2 separate regions of the Homo sapiens genome follow, and region 1 is linked to region 2. Evidence: promoter capture Hi-C in 16 types of primary human blood cells and fetal thymus (Javierre and others, 2016). All regions are on one chromosome and are shown on one strand. Each heading gives the region's core, a stretch centred on a gene start or on the middle of the fragment in contact. The rest is flanking DNA. Distances are from core to core; before and after follow the strand shown.

Region 1 (2,700 bases), core at 82-2,581, 250 kb after region 2:
CACCCTGAACAACACAGTGAGATCCCCACTCTACTAAAGAAAAAATTAGGCTAGGCATAATGACTCATGCCCATAATCCCAACACTTTGGGAGGTTGAGGCGGGTGGATCACTTGAGCCCAGGAGTTTGAGACTAGCCTGGGCAACATGGTGAAACCCCATCTCTACTAAAAATACAAAAAAAAATTAGCCAGGCATGGTGGCGTGTGCCTGTAATCCCAGCTACTTGGGAGGCTGAGGCAGGAGAATTGCTTGAACCTGGGAGGTGGAGGCTGCAGTGAGCTGAGATCGCGCCACTGAACTCCAGCCTGGGCAACAGAGCAAGACTCTGTCTCAAAAAAAAAAAAAAAAAAAAAAGAAAAAAAAATAGCCAGGCATGGTGGCGTCTGCCTGTGGTCTCTGTTATTCAGGAGGCTAAGGCAGGAGGATTGTTTGAGCCCAGGAGGTTGAGGCTGCAGTGATCTATGATCATGCCACTGCACTCCAGCCTGGGCAACGGACCGAGACCCCGTCTCAAAAAAAAAAAAAAAAAAAAAAAAAAAGCAAGAAAGCTATCAAGCTTTTATGGCCAAGACAAATAAAAGCTGAGGCTTCAGTAGCCTGGAAACAAAATTAGAACAACTCAGAGAGCTCCCAAATGTCTGGTAAGAAAGCCCTAATTTATTAGGTAAAAACTAGTGAAAATGAAACAATTCCGGGAAGAAGCCAGCAGAAGAAAGAGAAAATGATGTTAGCTAGAGCTAGAGTCTGTGATGACCAGGAAGATCTGATGAGGGACATGGGATAAGTAGCACAAGGACCTGTCCCCTCCTACCCTGAATAGTAGTGAGCGGTGGGTGCTGGTGCAGATCTCCTAAGTCCACTTTCACATATTGTCGTCCTAGCCTGGGACGCCTGTCCCACCCCTTAGGACAGAGACAAAAGATCTGAGGCTCTTGAACGGATTGCTGAATTTTCAAATAAAAACTTAAAGAGGCCACAAGGTTGAAAGGAAAAAAACCACAGTTAAGGCCAAAGCCCTTAATTTTCCATATTATTATGATAATAGGATATACAAAAGAGACAAGTAGGCGTCTATATTTGAATTAACTTTCCTTTCAGGTTTGACAACTGGAAGGTTTATCTAAAGCTGTCTCAAAGGATTTCGAGCATCTGAAGACACAGAACCCTCCTGAGCTACATGGTCCCTCTTAAGTGACAATGGCAATCCTATGTCTTTGGTTCCCAGACCAATCAGGTGGACAGATCCTGGGGGTTCCTGATCCTTCATGTTCATATTTGGCCACTGGTATTGAGGAAGGGAAGAGAGGATATTAAAAAGATAACATGTAGCATTTGTTGGACACTTGTTATGTACTTCCCACCATGTGGCACGGGGAAAGAAAAAATACAGCATGGTGCCTGTCTTCAGGAAATCTATAATGTATAGCTGGAGAAACAAGGGCATTCTTATATGAAGGTCATCATATGACACATTATGATATCATATGACACATTAGGATATAATTATTTCTTAATTTGTGTAGTACAAACTGCAACTGCAAGGACTATAGGAATACTTGTAGGGAGAAATCAACAGGGAAGGCTTTGGGGAGGATATAGAACTTCATCTCTGGATAAGAGGACAGAATGTAGACAAAAAGCATCAACTTCCTGCCTCTTATTTCCTATCTCATTAGCTGTGCATACTTGACGCAAGACTATGATTTTACTGGATTCCTAATCACCTGCTACTATGCAAAGCATCTTCCAAAGCACTGCTCAAGAGTCTAAGGAGAGAAGTCAGGGATTTAAAGTCTAACAAGGAGATAAAGTATTATCACCTAAATATCAGAAAGTATTTCCCAATGTTTTAATGATATCACAAAAAAGTCTAAACTAGTTCTAAAAGAACATCCACACAAAATGTTGACAGATGGGGACCAGGAACATTATAAAAACATAAATTACAACCTTAAAAAAATTACCCTTGTTGTGCTATTCTCTGTAGATAGGTTAACACTACTGACAGGAACTTTTGAGTTACTTTTCCACAGGTGATGGTGATGGGGATGCGCTTGTACCAAATTATCCACTGGGTGCTGCTCACCCAGTTCCCTGGGACCAAAGCTTTTTCAAACTAAGGCTCAGGCAGTGGTCACAGAACAGACTCAAGATATAACACACACCACAAACAGAATCTTGGCTAGATATGTACTACCCTCTCATGTACCATTTGCCAATCTTCTTCACATCAGGATGTTCTGGGGTAAAGGGAGGACTCAGCTTGTGGCTGAGAACAACTGGCCTAGAAACTCTGGCTCCCCTTCGCCATGCCATCCCACCCCAGGGACCATTATCTCAGTGCATCTCCAAACCATGCCCCCAGCACACAGGTTGGAAAACGTTGCTCTGACTACTCTACTTCATGGCAGACCCAGGTCCCTGTTGATTATTGGCCATTTAAATAATTATAGTCATGTATCACTTAATGACAGGGATACATTCTGAGAAATGCATCATTAGCTGATTTCATCACTGTGTGAACATTGTAGAGTGTACTTAAACCTAGATGGTGTAGCCTACTATACACCTAGGCTAGCTGGTATAGTCTATTGCTCCTAGGCTACAAACCCGTACAGCATGTTACTATACTGAATACTGTAGGCAATTATAACATGATGGTAATATTTGTGAATTTAGGCATATCTACACATAGAAA
Region 2 (2,700 bases), core at 1-2,500:
CAGGAGAATCGCTTGAAACCAGGAGGTGGAGGTTGCAGTGAGCCAAGATGGCGCCCGCCATTGCACTCCAGCCTGGGCGACAGAGCGAGACTCCGTCTCAAGAAAAAAATATATATATTTATATTCAGATATCAAAATGTTAAAACACTTTTTTTTTTTTTGAGACAGGGTCTCGCTCTCGCTCTGTCACTCTGGCTGGAGTGCAGTGGTACGATCACAGCTCACTGCAGTCTTGAATTCCCAGGCTTAAGCGGTACTCCTGCCTCAGCCTCCCAAGCAGCTGAGACTACAGGAGCACACCAACACGCCCAGCTAATTTTTGTATTTTTTGTAGAGTTGGGGGTTCTCGCTATGTTGCCTAGGCTGGTCTTGAACTTCTGGTCTCAAGTGATCTGCCCACCTCAGACTCCCAAAGTATTGGGATTGCAGGCGTGAGCCACAGCGCCCAGCCAAAACACATTTTGATGGTGTCATAAACGTGCTTCTTTAACCATTAGATAGCAAGATCTGGTCGTGGCCCAATAACTGTGATAATTTTGAAGATATAATGAATCTAAACAGTATATAGAGGCATTTGTGACAGCTGTGATAGGAAGTTATCTTCTATTTTGATTTGTGACAAAGCCACAGGTATTGCTAATTCTGCTGTGGTTTGTTGCCTAATTTATAGTGAAAGGAAAGGTGGAATATCAGTTACAGATTAGAGACAGATGTGATCTCTTCCTATCCAAGTTTCAGGTGCAGGGAAGTGGGTGTTGCTGTGTGGTGAGGGTGAAGAGGTTTTCTGGAAATTTGGGTTTAGGAAGAGGAAATGTTCCTAAAAGAGGGGACAATGATCCACATGCGTGGTGGGCCAAGAGGGTGGGCGGATCCTGCCAGAGCCTCCTCCCACCTGGAGGGGTCCCAGCGTCCACCTTCCCTGCCCCAGCCCCCCTCCTCGAGGTACTGGGAGGCTGGATAAAGTCTTCGGCTGGGCCACACCCCACCCCAAATTCTCCCTGTCCCACCCTAGTGGCCCAGGCCACCCCGGCCTGCTCCCTTCCGCAAGGCACCTCACCTTCTGTGCCCAGACCATTAGCCAACGCGGTGACCTTGACCCCGGCCCAGGCCCTGCTAATGAAGAGGAAAGCCCGTACGCACTCGGCCTGACCCACGGCGACCCTCTGTGACCAATCATACTACCAACCTCTTAAACAGAGCTCCACCGACGCAATGCCCAGGCATAAAAAGGCCAGGCCGGAGAGACCGCCACCAGTCACGGACCCTGGACCCAGCGCACCCGCACCATGGCCGGCCCCAGCCTCGCTTGCTGTCTGCTCGGCCTCCTGGCGCTGACCTCCGCCTGCTACATCCAGAACTGCCCCCTGGGAGGCAAGAGGGCCGCGCCGGACCTCGACGTGCGCAAGGTGAGTCCCCAGCCCTGGTCCCGCGGCGCTCCGGGGAGGGAGGGACCCGCAGCCACAGGGGCGCGCCCCGCTCCGGCCTCGCCTGAGAACTCCAGGAGCTGAGCGGATTTTGACGCCCCGCCCTTGACCGCGGTCGAGGCCCCCACGGCGCCCCAGCGCGTCTCAGCCCCGCTGTCCCGCCCGAACTCCGAACCCCGGACCCCAGCATCCTTGCCCGGCGCACCCCGGCCGGCCTCGCAGGGTCCTCCGAGCGAGTCCCCAGCGCCGCCCCGGCTCCCGCTCACCCCGCCCGTCCCCGCAGTGCCTCCCCTGCGGCCCCGGGGGCAAAGGCCGCTGCTTCGGGCCCAATATCTGCTGCGCGGAAGAGCTGGGCTGCTTCGTGGGCACCGCCGAAGCGCTGCGCTGCCAGGAGGAGAACTACCTGCCGTCGCCCTGCCAGTCCGGCCAGAAGGCGTGCGGGAGCGGGGGCCGCTGCGCGGTCTTGGGCCTCTGCTGCAGCCCGGGTGAGCGGGGCAAGGCGCTCCGGGGCCAGGGGGAGGCGGGCGGGGGTGCGGCCGGGATTCCCCTGACTCCACCTCTTCCTCCAGACGGCTGCCACGCCGACCCTGCCTGCGACGCGGAAGCCACCTTCTCCCAGCGCTGAAACTTGATGGCTCCGAACACCCTCGAAGCGCGCCACTCGCTTCCCCCATAGCCACCCCAGAAATGGTGAAAATAAAATAAAGCAGGTTTTTCTCCTCTACCTTGACTCGTGTCTAAGTGCCAGAAATGGGACGGGGAGGGGGCATTGTGGGACTGGAAGATCGCGCGCGTTGGACCTGTGGCTTGTTGCGCTCAGAGCTGGCCCAGGAAGACGTGTCCCGGCTACCCGAGGGGACAGAGCGGGTGCTGTTCTGGCTGCCACCACCCTGGAGGGGCTGGAAGAGGGAGGGGCACAAAGGCTCTGAGGACGTGGAAACAGCCCCAGCTTCCCGCTCCCAGCCTGGGCTGAGGCCTACAGCAGGCTGCACCTCAGGGGATCTTTCAAAATTCAAAAAGACGAGGATGAGGGAGCAAATACAGACAAGGGTCTGAGCGGGATGACCACAGGAAGCGGGCAGTGCACACTGAATGGCTTCCTGACCCCTGAAAGGAGGTTTGAGCCACACTTAGAAGTTGAGGGAGCGGAGCGGGCCTGGGGGGAGGGGGCCCTGGGGAGCAGCTGAAGGGCCAACATGTTTCCAAGGAGCTGGCCCCCAGGAGGCCACTGGCACGCTCAGAAGAGGAGCCCAAGCTGCCGGGACTGGGCTTGAAT

Evidence for each region. The method cuts DNA at HindIII sites, captures the fragments that hold promoters and counts their contacts. A CHiCAGO score of 5 or more calls a contact.
Region 1: a contact is called between a fragment that was not itself captured here and the fragment with the promoter of OXT in region 2, in 1 of 17 cell types (naive CD4 T cells). The highest score is 5.3, in naive CD4 T cells.

The regions. Positions count from the first base shown.
Region 1 is chr20:3,318,749-3,321,448 of GRCh38, forward strand. All of the region lies in intron 16 of DNAAF9 (dynein axonemal assembly factor 9), which reads right to left. Among named protein-coding and RNA genes, the nearest start is that of SLC4A11, 81 kb to the left of the region's middle. The HindIII fragment of the contact is 1,550 bases long and covers 557-2,106 here.
Region 2 is chr20:3,070,370-3,073,069 of GRCh38, forward strand. OXT (oxytocin/neurophysin I prepropeptide) reads left to right here and starts at 1,251. Exons shown (of 3, transcript NM_000915.4): 1 at 1,251-1,406; 2 at 1,708-1,909; 3 at 1,994-2,148. The coding sequence starts at 1,287. The coding sequence ends at 2,049. It overlaps LOC101929098 (a long non-coding RNA gene), which reads right to left and starts at 1,930. Exons shown (of 2, transcript XR_430278.4): 1 at 1,828-1,930. RefSeq lists a silencer at 1,917-2,026 and an enhancer at 2,502-2,700. The HindIII fragment of the contact is 21,298 bases long and covers 1-2,700 here.